Linked DNA regions of Homo sapiens: regions 2, 3 and 4 are each linked to region 1. Evidence: promoter capture Hi-C in 16 types of primary human blood cells and fetal thymus (Javierre and others, 2016). All regions are on one chromosome and are shown on one strand. Each heading gives the region's core, a stretch centred on a gene start or on the middle of the fragment in contact. The rest is flanking DNA. Distances are from core to core; before and after follow the strand shown.

Region 1 (3,497 bases), core at 515-3,014:
TTAGTCCCGCCCTTGATCCCTGCCCTTTGCCTCCACCAGGCTCCCTCAGCTTGCTCAGTCAATCCCTGCTGGGTCGATTGGCCCCTAAAAGGTCAATATCAACAACATCCTCAGCCCTAGGGAACAGCAGCAGCAGTCATAGGAAAACTGTCATCTTCAGACCCCACTGTGCCCCTCCTAGCTCTGTGTTCTGCTTAACTGTGGGAGTCAGAGAGAAGGGGCAGCCTGGGAGGCTTGATGTGCCTCTCTGAGTAAGACACTAAAGCAAGGCAGCAGGTACAAAGAAGAATAGTGATCATAACAGAGGAACATTTATTAAGCTTTCGCCGGGTGCACAGCACTGTGCTAAGAGACACAGAAACAATCTGGGAAGAGAGCTCAGAGCAGCGCGGGAGAAAGGGGCCACATCAGGAAGGGTTTTGTAAACCTTGTGCAAGATTCTATGCTGAGGACAACAGGTGGGGCGCTGGGGGTGGGGAAGTGACAGATCTGTTTGGAAGAAGCCCTCTAGCAGGTGTCAAAACTCTTCCCCTTCACCCTACCAGGCCCCTGGTAGGTAAAGACTAGAAAGGGATGGAAGCAGCAACATCTCCCTGATTTCTGAACCAACCTATGGTGGGTGGGGGAGGTTGATGAATTTAGTGGCGGAAACCAAGAATGCCGAACTGGGCCCCTGGAGTGAGAGGTATCAGACTGTACAAGAGACATTAGTGCAGAGGTAAAAGCTAAGAAGAGGCATAATTTGGAGTCAGGAGCCCTGGGTCAGGTGTGAACATTATCTTTAACTTACTATCTGAGTCTATTCCTACATCTGTGAAGCAGAGAAAACAATTCCATTCTCTGCCTATCCTCAGGAATACCAAATGAACAAATGAACATGAAAGGTATAATATGTGCCCTTTTCTCAACAGGCAGCTGACCCCTGAATTGTCTGCTGTGTTTCCTGTTTCACTCTCGGGGTCTTGTCTTCCTGCCCAGTCTCCCCACAGCAGGGTCTAGCACCAGGGTTGGGGGGTGGGGGCCCATCCTCCTCCTCCGGCTGGAAATGAGCTTTCAACTTGTTGAGATGGGGACCTTCTCCCTCTCCCTCCCCCACAGGTCCCAGAAGAGGCGACAGCTTCACCTCAGGACCACCCACCCCTCCCAAGCCACTGAGGAGTTTGGGATCAGCCCAGGAGCTCTTCACTCAATAGCTGGTGCTGAAACACGTGTAGGGCTGCTCCCCACCGCCTGCACGTTAAAATCACCTGAGGAGCTGTGCAATAATACCGAGGCCCAGGCCTCACCCAGAACAGTTAAATCGGAATCTCTTCGGGCGGGCCCAGCATCGGTGTTTTTCAAAGCTCCCCAAGTGCCACCAGGGTTAAATGCCTTTATGCTAATGGCACGGATCCCGACCTGACCAGTGCATCCCTCGATCCCAGACCACCAGGGAGCTATTTGACCCACTGCATCCCTTTCCTCCAGACCCCCGGAGAGCCTTTCTGCGAGGATTCCACCCTTGCCCCCTTGAACCCCGCTTCTTCCGCCCGGACCACACAACTCTCCCAATCCACAATATGATCACCCCAAAGACCCCCGCAGATAGCCCCCATGACTCCCAGAGCGCAAAGCATTCCCCTCCCCCTCGGGTCTGTCGTTTGTGCCAGATCGGCCCCAGCCCAGCCCGCTCCTGCCCGCGAGCCCCGGCCGCTGGCCAGCGTCTCACCGCAATCGTAGCCGGCGAAGCCTAATCCCACGGCTGGCGGGAGCCAGGTGCGAGCCAATGCGCCTGCGCGCACTTCTAGGGCTTCCCCAGCCTCTCCCTCCGCCCCCGCCCAGCGATTGGCTCCGCGCGGCCCCCGGGCGCAGCTCCGGCAGGTGACTGCGCCTGAGGCTGCCGCCGCCATGTTTGTCACGGGCGCTTGCCCTTAGCGACCAAAATTAAAAGCGGACACTGGCAAATAGGGTCAGGTTGCCTGGATTCCTGACCGGCTCAACCCCTCTCCTTTACCTCCACGATAGCTTAATGTCATTTCAGTTGAAACCAACACGTTTTTTCTAAGCGCTCACCTTCCTTCCCTCCTTGCCTAGTACTCGTTGGGAGAACAAAGAGAGGTCAGCATCCTCCATTGAGTCTTGTGGTCTGAGCGGATGCACAGCTGCAGCCGACTTGGAGGTGTCAGCGGCTCGATCTGGGACTCCCTGATGCTGCATCATGAGCCCTTCAAGGGTGGACAGGTCCAGGTTGAGCTGTGGGCACCAGGGCTCTAGCCACAGGAGCCAGGGCTGAAGGTGGGAAACAGCCACCAGGGCCTGAATGAGCAACCATGCAGCACAACCTCTTTGTATTAATAACGGCAATAATAAAACCTAAGGAGTACTGAGTGCTTGCTATGTGCACCGTACTACATTCAGAACAACACGTGCATTCTCTTGTTGAGTCCTCACATCATTCCTAGGAGGTAGGCGCTTTTATCCACATTTTATATGTGAAGAAACTGCATTTCAGAGAGATTCAATGACACGCAAACAGCAAGGGCCCAGTCGAGGTGGAACCCGCTATCCTGACTCCCATAACAAGAGTCTTTCCTCTTCCCACACCTGCACAATCCCTCAAAATCAAGTTTTGTTTGGCTCAATGTAGGCTGTGGAGGATGTTTTATGTTTTCTCCCAATTGGCCTGTAAGCCTGGATAGGTTTTTGGGCAAGCAAACAGCACACATTCCAGCTCTGCCTGGTTCCCCTACCTTGGGACACAGGGCAAAAAGCCTGTGGCCTTTGCCTTATGGGGGACTTGGAACTCAACCCCTAGCTCCAACACTTCTTTGCTAAGGGACTTCTTTATTATTATTTTTTGAAACAGGGTCTTGCTCTGTTGCTCAGGCTAGAGTGCAGTGGTGGCATGATCTCAGCTCACTGTAACCTCCACCTCCCTGGCTCAGATGATCCTCTCACCTTAGCCTCCCAAGTTGCTGGGACCACCACCTCACTCCACCATGCCTGGCTAATTTCTAGAATTATTTGTAGAGATGGAGTCTCACTATGTTACCCAGGCTGGTCTTGAACTCCTGGGCTCAAGGGACCCTCCCGCTTCAGCCTCCCAAAGTGCTGGAATGATAAGCGTGAGTCACTGCACCTGGCTGGGACCCTCCTTTTGTGAGTCTGTTTTATGCTTTACAGGGATTTTTCAGACATTAAATGAGAAACAAGGGTGTAGGAGCTTTGTGAACTGCTCATCCTTATGACCTTCATTGATGGTTGTCGGCTAACTTCCTGCAACAGGAATGTTGTCCTCCTCCTAACAACCACAGCAAATGGTCCAATGTAGACGCCTAGTGTCCAGGGGCTACAGATTATTCAACCAGTTCCTGAGGAGCCCCCAGGGATGCCATGAACCTTGCCCCCAGAATCCATCTCCCACTAACCTGTCTCATTTCCCTCCTTCCCAATCTCTCTCTTTCGGACACCCTTCACACTTCCCATGTCACCCCAAGCCACACATACACGCACACACA
Region 2 (3,497 bases), core at 745-3,244, 200 kb after region 1:
AGAAGGATAATATTGACTAATATAAAGGGCGCAGCTTGACAGTGGATATTCCTGCCACACCTGATCAAACACACTCCGTGGGGGGAGGGGAAAGAGAGCAAGAGAGGGAAGATGGGACAAGACAGCCTGAAATTTGCATCCGGAAAAGATTAAAACGGATTCTTTGGGGATAGAGAAAATACATAATATATATTACTATAAATGCAAAACTGTACTAAAAGCTAACTCAAATGTCAAAGATTACAGTTTGAATAAATTTAAATATAAAAGCCATGTGCTTCCTTGAGTTAATGAGAGAGACATAAAAGGACAAACTGGGCCAGAAGCTGAACAGAGCCTTATGCTGCCTTTGCTGGGTAATGGGTCCAAAGCACAGCAGTGACTACAGAGACTTCCCTCCACAGTTCTGAGACCTGAGAAAAAACTGGCAAATCCATCACTTCTGCAGCCTACATTTGCCTCCTTTATAAACTGAGATATGATTCACATACTATAAAATTATCCTTTTCAAGTATACAATTCAGTGGTTTCTTGTATACTCACAAAGTTGTGCAACCATCGCTACTATCTAATTCTAGAACATTTTCATTACCCCAAAAAGGAACCCTGTAGCCATTAGCAGTCACTCTCCATACCCCCTCCCAGCCCCTGGTAACCACACATCTGTTTTAACTCCTTCAGAATAATCTAAAAGGAGTCCTGAGAGGACTTCAAGACCAAATGAGGGACAGCAGTCAAGTCTCTCTCACTGGTGGTAAGCTAAAGCTTTATCCAAAGTAACAGTATGCAAACTTTGCTCTTGGACACCCTTTTTCTTCCAAGAGCAACCCTCTTTTCAAATTTGGTATTATTAGAATATCTTATTACTCTAAATGCTATAGACCTTGTAGTCATCATACAGTTTAGGCAAATACTGACTGTAAATGTGGTCCAATGACATACATCTGTGAGAAAAACTAGTATGGACTTAGCCAACCTTACTGGAGAAAAGGACTTATTTCCTTCACAATAATGAGATAATATTCCTGGAGGAGTAGTGTAGGTAGTACTTATACATTTTAAAGATTCTTTCTACAAAAAGAGAAAAAAAAATCATTTTGGTTTACTGACAATGTCCAATGAACCACCCATTTCCAACAGTGATAGTCTTACCAATCAAGCCAGCAGAAAGCCTAGAAAAATGCAAACAGAAACCCTTTGCAAAAAAGGACCATGTCCAAGTCAGTTTCATGAGAAACTGGGTAGAAGTCCTAGAATTCCTGCTATCCCTCCTCCAATCTAAGTGGTACACCTTAACTGGTCATCTAACACAAGCACATTCCCTTCAGTTTTCTCTCCAAGTTAAAAACCCTTTCCCAGCCTCCTACCATTAATAAGCTTCCAGGAAAGCAGTCCTCCTGACACTGCCAATCAGAAAAATCTGTTTGTTTCCGTAAAAGAAACAAGAAATTAGTCATGGGTTGCAGAGTCCAGGACCACAGGGACAGCTGACCCATAAACCTGCTCCTGGGAGCCGGCACTGTGTGTGGGGTCAGAAGCAATATGAAGACCATAAATGCTCTATTTTAGGTCTATTCTGTCATTTTCTCAGGCAGGTAATATGCTAAAAACCAAGAACAATGTAGCAACCTTGGCAGGCACCATTTCAAGACATGCCACAGCTGTTGGCCTTGGAAAACACTACTCCCTTCCCTCTCACTCCAGGGGAAAGCTTAGCAACACCCAGAGATGTTCCTACCACCAATGAGAGAAATGGCTCCTGAACACACTCTGGTTTTACTAGTTCCAAGAGCAGATAATCTGGCTGGATTTCTGACCCAAGGACGTAAGGAAATCAGGCGTCAGACTCAACTTTGATAGCTCTTAAATAGTCTACAATTCCTAGACTGCATCATTCACCACAGGTATGGTCTCTGAGGTAAAATCTTGGGACATGTTAGCATGAAGAAAATAAGCATGGGATCTGGATTCAGTAGCAGGCAGGAAATGTGGCTCTGTCAGGATAGCAGCACCACCTCAGCTCCTCAAGGTTTGCAGAATGACCAAAAGGCCTACAAGGCCAGGGTGATCTCAGTCATTTTAGGGTATTCCCAGTCACTTATAACAACAATCCTTCACTGTGTATAAGATGTTTACCAAGTGTTTCCAATTATATTAACTTGTTTGATCCTCTTAATATCTCTTAAGAAGACAGTACTCTGAATTCAAAACCAAACAAAAAGAACTGTAAATCTCCATTCATTATATTTCCTTTCTAATTGGGATATGTAAGCTTTATCTGTAAAATTAAAAAAAAAAATCTGTGCAAGTAGCCAACATTCTAAAGCACTCAAGTACCAGTCGGTACAGGCCATAAAATAAGAACATGCCACCTAGTAGCAGCATTTGCCCTGCTAACTAGTCAACAATTGCCTCCTCTATACTTGATCCTTCTTAGCTAACATTTCCAAGCTGTTTCAATTGAGTGAAATTTGCTCCTTTAAAGAAAATATGGTTGGGAGGCCAAGGTGGGCGGATCACTTGAGGTCAGAAGTTCAACACCAGCCTGGCCAAAACGGTGAAACATCATCTCTACTAAAAATACAAAAATTAGCCAGGCATAGTGGCACACGCCTATAATCCCAGTTACTCAGGAGGCTGAGGCAGAAGACTTGCTTGAACCCAAGAAGCAGAAGTTACAGTGAGCTGAGATCACGCCACTGCACAAAAAGAAAATATGGGCTGAGCACGGTGGCTCACGTCTGTAATCCTAGCACTTTAGGAGGCCAAGGCAAGTGGATCATCTGAGGTCAGGAGTCTGAGACTAGCCTGGCCAACATGGTGAAACTCCGTCTCTAGTAAAAATACAAAAATTAGTCGGGTGTGGTGGTGCACGTCTGTAATCCCAGCTACTTGGGAGGCTGAGGCACGAAAATCGCTTGAATCTGGGAGACGGAAGTTGCAGTTGCAGTGAGCCGAGATCACACCACTGCACTCCAGCCTAGGCAACAGAGAGACACACTGTTTCAAAAAAAAAAAAAAAAAAGAAAGAAAGAAAGAAAATATGTAGGGAACTCTTAGATAACTTTAGCCCATGTTTAGGAAAGTAAAATAGATTTTTTCTCCAGATCTTCTCCCATATTTCTAATGAAAAGAAGAAATTTTCTTATTGTTTGTTTAATTTGCAGAAGCCTAAACACTATCCAATTACAGTCTGACATATGTCACTAGCCAAAAGCATTCCAGGGTTATACACTGCAGGAGCCCTTTGTGGTCAACAAAGGAACATAGCTCTGAGGCTGTCCCTTTCAGTCTGTATCTACATCCCCTTGGTTTTGACACTTTCCTCCTTTCCTGCCAGTGTATATGTGTGTGTGTGTGTGTATATATATACATAAAATAAACACACACACACACACACACACAAATATAAGGTACTTAATGTGTACATTCTCTTCTAATCACATGTACAGAAGCAATATAGAGCAAAGAGCCCTAAACCAGGCAACAGAGGCCTG
Region 3 (3,497 bases), core at 630-3,129, 180 kb after region 1:
AGAGAAGCATGTCAGAAGATCCATAAGACCTGAAAGGAGCTTTATCATCAAAGTCCTATCCAGTCTCAAAAGCTTTTGAAGCTATATAAAACAAAACAAACACAAATAACAAGTGTTGGTAAGGATGCGGAAAAACTGGAACCCTCATGCATTCTTGGTGGGAATGTAGTATGGTTCAGCTGCTATAGAAAACTGTTTGGCAGTTACTCAAAAAGTTAAACATAGAATTACCATACAACCCAGCAATTCCAGTCCTAGGTATATATCCAAAGGAATTGAAAACAGATACTCAAATACATGTATACACATGTCCCTAGCAGCACTATTCATAATTGCCAAAAGGAAGAAATGGTCCAAATGTCCATCAACGAATGAATGGATGAACAAATTGTGGTATACACACACAATGGAATATTATTCAATCCTAAAAAGAATTGAAGTGCTGATTCATGTTACAGCATGGATGACCCTCAAAAACATTATGCTAAGAGAAAGAAGCCAGACATAAAAGGACACATATTATATGATTCCATTTATATGAAATATCCAGAATAGGTAAATTTACAGAGACAGAATGCAGATGGATGGCTACCAGGGGCTGGAGGGGAAGGGAAAGTGTGGAGCAACTGCTTAATGGGTACAGGATTTCCTTTTGGGGCGATGAAAATGTTTTGGAATTAGATAGGGTACATTGTGAATGTACTAAATGCCACTATATTGTTTCACTTTAAAATGGTTAATTTTATGTTATATGCATTTCACTTCAGTTTTTTAAAAAAGCTCTTGAAAATACAAGTAAAGATCCTCTTATCTCTAATTTGACTTTATTTTTCTAAAGTGCTTTAACAGGATATGAGCTTCCCTTCTAAGAAACCATGAACAATTTCCAGTTAAAGCCTGTCGTGTCTCCTCTATAGTTTTTGTAGAGACAAGCAGGTACCTCAGTCCATAGTGCAAAGGGTCACTTGGGATTCTTGCAAAAAGTGAAACTTACCTAGTTGCTTTCCACTCACCAAAACTGGTTGCAGAAATGTCAGTGGACGTCTATGTCTGTATTCCCACTGGAGGCTCACTGAACCTAAGCTTCTTTAGCAGCTAAAAAGTCTCCCCTCCTTGGAGACTTAACATCTATTGAGACTTCACAAAGATTTCACATTATACAAGACCACAGTAAGAAATTTCCTCCTCTTCCACCACAGCTCAATTCGGAGTTCTTTGGAAACACAGGTACTTCACTGTCTCCTGTTTTGCATTCTGAATAAGAGATCCTCCCACGTTTTTCCCCTACCTACAGGTTAAAACTTGCCAACAGACAAGACTTACTGGTAGAAGCACTTTGAATAGTCATTCTTCATATTGTCACTTTGTCTTTCATATTTCTCTTTCAAATTGTTGAGGCAAAAGCATTTTCAGAGTATGAGGTCTATCCTCTAGTATTCAATACCTGTTACATCTTTGCTGTCATCAACAACCTCCCAGCCTCCTAGCAGAAGGCCTCAGTCACCCAAGCCCTTAAAGACTCCTATAATTGGTGGTTTATACTTTCTCCCCTGTCCTAATCCCACTTCATCATGCCATGAAGATACACAATATTTGCAAATTTTCTAAAGCTCTTTCTCATTGTTTTGCTCATTGCTATTTCCACAGCTTCCTTTTGGAGATAAAGCCAGGCCCTTCCTGGCCTCAAGAATTTACCTGTGCCTGGACACAACTAGAAGAGGGCAATAGTCACCAGAGGGTCCAAACACAGCTTCTATGCTCATAGCTACATATAATAAAAGCATAAACGGAGAATGATCCCCTTTCCCATTAATTAAAATGGCTCTACTAACAAGTGGTTGTTAAGGGTATCAATAAACTGCCTACCCTCTGTCATCTTAGGTTGAAGTACTTTAAAAGTTACCTTTTAGGATCCAGGTACTATCTTCACTACTACTTCTCTGGGCAAGATGAGTGACTCCTTACCTTAAGATCTGATGGTTTGTACCTCAATAGTTTCCACCTCCTTGTGATAATCTTTTAATAGTATCTAGGATCATTAGTAACCCGCTACTTTACCTCCTCTCACCTCTCCCCTTTACTCATCCCTCCGGACAGAGCATTCAGAGTCAGTTAAGTGCCATGTCTTATTGAATTTTTAAATTTTTCTACTATCTCTTAGCACTGCAGTTCTGTGAATCTCCTTACTCCAAGCCAGAACTTCAGCCTACCCAATTAGAGACTGGAATTTAAAAACTCATGTTCCTATTCCCAGATAGTTAACACCACACGTGCTGGAAATAGGCTAGTTGGGTTAGTGTTCATGCTATACTCTCAGCAGACTTTCCTACTGAACCTGGTATCCAACAACAGGGACCAGTAAGCAGCCTGAAGTCTGTTGCCAGGGAACAAGGCTAACTCAGGATTTTCTGCCATCAGTTCCTTTGGTAGACATAGCAGAATCAAAGAGAAAGGGGTTTTCCCAAAATAATTGTGATTAAAATAATAATGTTAATTTGTCTCCAGCAAGACAGAAGAGTCCAGGAACAAGCTAGACTCACCTCTGTCTCTTGTTCCTCTTCAGTAAATGGCCCACCTGAAGGTTAGCTGTAAGTCTGCCCTTATTCACGTGAAAAGCAAATAAATAACCTCATCGCCTTTTTCCAAATCATAATCACACTTTAAAAGAAGCTTTTACTGTATAACCTTGAAAATGTTACTTAATTTTTCTGGAACCTGAGTTTTATCTGTAAAAGGGGAATATTAATAAAGGCACAGTCTATCTTGTGAGTTTTTGTGAAACTTGAAAAGAATACAGGCGGCCGGGCGCGGTGGCTCACACCTGTAATCCCAGCACTTTGAGAGGCCGAGGCGGGTGGATCACAAGATCAGGAGATTGAGACCATCCTGGCTAACACGGTGAAACCCCATCTCTACTAAAAAATACAAAAAAAAAAAAAATTAGCCGGGTGTGGTGGTGGGCGCCTGTAGTCCCAGCTACTCAGGAGGCTGAGGCAGGAGAATGGCAGGAACCTGGGAGGCGGAGCTTGCAGTGAGCCAAGATCGCGCCACTGCACTCCAGCCTGGGCGACAGAGCGAGACTCTGTCTCAAAAAAAAAAAAAAGAAAAGAAAGAAAAAAGAAAAGAAAAAGAATACAGGCAAACTGTTACAGCCAAGTGGAACCTAACAAGATGTGATGACTAAATGTAATGTGGTATCCTAGATGGAATCCTTGAACAGAAAAAGGCCATTAAGTAAAAACCTAATGAAATCTGAATAAAGTATGGACTTTAATTAATGATGAATCAATATTTGTTCATTAATTGTGACAAATGTGTCATATTAATGTAAGATGTTAATAACAGGGGAAACTGGGCATTGGATAGATGAGAACTTCTTTACAACTCTTCTATAAATATGTTTATAGAAATAATCTATTATAGATTATGTATGAGTCTAAGTTATAATATAACAATTTATATAAATATAATTTATAGATAATTTATAAAAATATAAT
Region 4 (3,497 bases), core at 998-3,497, 140 kb before region 1:
TCATCTTGGGAAAAGCCAGATACAGATTTCATGGCTGGAATGCAAGGGTTGTGAAATGCTGAAGAAGCCCCAAAGAGGGCCAAGGACTCTCCTTCCGGGAAGGCAGTGGGAGGAGGGCTGGCAATGAAGAGTAGGAGAGGAGCGGGTTACCCAGGGGGCCTGCCTTTCTGGAAAGGAAGAAATAGACCCTCAAAATGGAAAGAAATCCCCTAGCCCTGAGGTGGTAGAGGGACCAGAGAGAGGGTTGTTTTAGTTTCTGCACATGAAGAAAGTAAGGCCTTGTGTCACAAAATAATTTTGGTATAAATGAGCCAATTATGACATAGCTTGTTATTTCTGGGATTTGGAATCATCAAGGCTCATGGCATCTCATAGGAGTTATTTAACTCCCCTAGAGTTTAGTTAAATAAGCCCAATAAGCTTCTAATATGAGGCTTTGGCCTTGTCCTTGGTGCCATGTGAGAGGTCCTGATTCATGCTGCAACTAGTTAGATGAATTCTACCAGTAAAGGTCATTATTTTCTCAGAGACACAGTCTGATGTGTCCCCCATGGGGTCCCTGAGAATGGGGTAAGGAAGATTACATCCATTTTAATGGCTGATAGATGGCTGTAACTAAGCTCTACCCCTTTCCAACCTTGGAAAAGATACTTATTAGCCTCTCTGTACCTCATCCATTAAAGGGGAATATGTAAGATTATCGACCACAGGATGGCTATGAGGATAAGATAAATGAATGGCAGCACATAGTAGCTGGCACATTACCTAGCACAGAATGAGCACTAATAAGGTTTTAGCTGCTGCTGAAGTGTGAAAAGAGCAAGTGCTTGACACCCCCAAGTAGGCCGGCACCCGGCTGCTATTGCCCAGGCTTGATCAGCTGCTCTGAGCCTCTGATTTAGCTCTGTATCTTCCTTAGACCACAGACAAACCCGCGAAGACCCATGCATAAGAGCTCCCTGGCCCAGAAGTCCTGACTAAGGGGAAATCAGACCCGCAGACAAAATATGGCCCACGCTGGCTGCCCCCCAACAGGGAGAGGAGCAAACACTGGTGCCAGCACATTTTGGGTCAGCTTTCTCAGTTGCAATCCATGTGGTGTATGTGAAATGGGGTCAGGTCCCAGAGTGGGCAGCACAGATATTACCGTCACGCTCACTGATCTGAACTGAGTCCATCATCATCGATCCTGAGATAACAGGAAACTTGAGTCTGACAGGCTTGAGGGGTGTGTTGGAGAATGTTCTTGGCAAAGGAGGAGGAGAAACCATTTCTCAACCAATTGCTAACAAATTGGTAACCAATACTGACAGCCTCAGAGGAAACATTCTATTCCCCTCAGACTACAGGTCCTGGTGCTTTAGAGACCTTACTGGGCACTAAACCTTCAGGAAGGGGAGACAACCCCGGCACCTCGAATCTATTCTCACCCATCTCTCTGTATCTCAGCCAACTCAAGCCAAAGGGTAGAAGCTGCAGCCTCTCTGCCTTATGTTTACAGAGAACCCTTGGGCCAGAACCAATACCCGACTGCCCAGTTAGGGTGTAGGCTGAGAGTCTCGGCTTATGTGTATATCTAGGAGCACAGAGCCTTGTGCCCCATTGCAATGTCCAGGGGTGCAGTAGCTGGAAGTGCCCCCAAGCCAGGGAGTGAGATCTCAGGCCTGTTCCAGATACACAAGCGGGGCAAGAAGGTTGTATCTCTGCAGGAGCTTGTGCCCTTCTGCCTAGAAACCCCAGGCTTCCAGAGGCAGAGAGCCATCTGGACTGAGACTGTGTCCATGTTATAGGCCTTCCAGTACCTCTGGCCTGCCAACAGTGCCAAGGAGGCCCAAAGCGAGAAGCCAAGCTCAGGGAATGGGAAGGAGTGTAGACCCGGGACAGGGTCCAGACTCACAGGTAGAGAGCTTCCATATGTCGTATGACCTGGTGTGGCCATCTGCTGCTGCCAGGGGATGATCAGGATGCCTCCAGCCAGCTACTTCAGGGCAGCTGGCTGGAGAAACCTACAGGCCGGAGTTAAAAGCTGCTCTGAGGTGGCGGTGGAGGCTTCTCCAGGCTTTTGCCAAAGAGCTCAACTCTCAGTACAGCCCTGTTCCCAGAGTAACTCTAGTTCCAGTCAGGTCCCAGCAGGCAGCCTCAACTTTAACCAGCCAGGCCTCCCCTGTGCTATCCTCTTGAGTTCCTTCCCCTGCTTATTAAAATTCTAAGGTGCCCTCAAGGTCGATGCTATGTTCTTCCTCCTCCAAGATGCCCTCCCTAACTACCCCAGATCCTGTGGACCTGTCTTTTCTGTAGTGCACTGAAGCATTACTACTTCTGGGAAACACGATCAGCAACTAGAGCTAGAATCCAGAGAAGCAGCCATTTCCAACAAATCACATCGACAGCCAGATGCACACCATTAAAAGGTAACTGTTTCACTCATGTTCTCCCAAAGGAAGAGCCTGTGCACCCCAGATGGCCCCCTAGGTCCGAGCTTGTCAGACAGCAAATGTGTAATAAAGACTTCATAGAAGAAGGCTAGATCACCCTGGTCTTGCAGGATGATCAACCTCCCTTTCAGCCCAAGGCACAGCAATTTCCTCCCTGGCAGGCAAGGTTCCTGCTTTGGGCTGCCAGCCCCCAGGTATCTCCTGCCAGCAGCTATTCCCTAGAGCTGCCCTGGGACTAAGGGCAGAGGGGGGTGCCCAGCTTCAGCCCTGCCTATCACTCATCCCCTCTATCAGAGGAAGAGAGGTTGGCAGGAAGCGGATCTGACCTCTAGGGTGGCCACAGTCTCTCCGGAGGGCTACAGGGGCCCCTGGACAGGCAGCAGAGGCCTGCAAAAGACTTCCTTTCCCTTCCCTGGGCCCCAGGGAAGAGAGGCAGGAAGAAGGGCCTCAGCCACAGGCATCCAGTATGGGGCTGGCCAGAGAGGGAGGCCCCCAGGGTTGCAGCTATCAGCCGGAGACCAGGCTCCAGGAAGGAAGGAAGGGCAACTCTGGCCAAGACTGAGATAAGGAGGGAACCGTGCTCAGCACAATGGGCTCCCACAAGGCTGGGAGGCCCCAAGTCAGATTTCTCCCCAACCTGGCCTCCTGTCTGTTCACACGGCTCATGTAAATATTTACTGATGTTAATATTCACGGTCTGCTGGGTCCCCTCTGAGGCCCTCTCCTATGACCCACAGATAGATCTGTGTGCCCCAGACCATGCCTGCCCTTAAGCCTAGAGATCCTGGGCCCATCCAGCAAGGGCTATGTGCATTGTTCTCTCTCATGCAATCCACAGGGACAGGCCCTTCAGAAAAAAGTCGTCCTCTTGTTCCAGCCCAGGGACACTGGGGAACTTACGGGGCCCGGTCGTGGGCGAGGCCATTCTGCCGCTGAGGGTTGATTGGTGGAAGGACAGGTTTGCTGTTGATCTCGAGTCCTCTCCTCAGGGTCTCCCGGATCTGCTCTGTGTCTGCAACGACACCACTAAGTTGCCCAGTGGCCCAGTGGGCTCCCAGCAAT

Evidence for each region. Contacts are between HindIII fragments. The CHiCAGO score rates a contact against its expected background, and 5 or more counts as called.
Region 2: a fragment that was not itself captured here is called in contact with the fragment with the promoter of SLC68A1 in region 1 in 1 of 17 cell types (activated CD4 T cells); the score reaches 5.3 in activated CD4 T cells.
Region 3: a fragment that was not itself captured here is called in contact with the fragment with the promoter of SLC68A1 in region 1 in 1 of 17 cell types (activated CD4 T cells); the score reaches 5.1 in activated CD4 T cells.
Region 4: a contact is called between a fragment that was not itself captured here and the fragment with the promoter of SLC68A1 in region 1, in 1 of 17 cell types (erythroblasts). The highest score is 6.7, in erythroblasts.

What each region holds. Positions count from the first base shown.
Region 1 is chr10:102,459,662-102,463,158 of GRCh38, reverse strand. It overlaps SLC68A1 (solute carrier family 68 member 1), which reads right to left and starts at 1,764. Exons shown (of 10, transcript NM_024789.4): 1 at 1,709-1,764. LOC124902493 (a long non-coding RNA gene) reads left to right here. Exons shown (of 3, transcript XR_007062270.1): 3 at 1,099-2,366. RefSeq lists enhancers at 682-1,364, 1,365-2,048, 2,176-2,245 and a silencer at 1,686-1,905. The HindIII fragment of the contact is 5,189 bases long and covers 323-3,497 here.
Region 2 is chr10:102,261,144-102,264,640 of GRCh38, reverse strand. All of the region lies in intron 3 of GBF1 (golgi brefeldin A resistant guanine nucleotide exchange factor 1), which reads right to left. Among named protein-coding and RNA genes, the nearest start is that of GBF1, 17 kb to the right of the region's middle. The HindIII fragment of the contact is 561 bases long and covers 1,714-2,274 here.
Region 3 is chr10:102,281,537-102,285,033 of GRCh38, reverse strand. The region is part of intron 3 of GBF1 (golgi brefeldin A resistant guanine nucleotide exchange factor 1); the gene reads right to left. Among named protein-coding and RNA genes, the nearest start is that of GBF1, 38 kb to the right of the region's middle. The HindIII fragment of the contact is 1,587 bases long and covers 1,086-2,672 here.
Region 4 is chr10:102,599,383-102,602,879 of GRCh38, reverse strand. SUFU (SUFU negative regulator of hedgehog signaling) reads right to left here. Exons shown (of 12, transcript NM_016169.4): 8 at 3,336-3,447. Among named protein-coding and RNA genes, the nearest start is that of TRIM8-DT, 42 kb to the left of the region's middle. RefSeq lists an enhancer at 2,378-3,128. The HindIII fragment of the contact is 3,650 bases long and covers 423-3,497 here.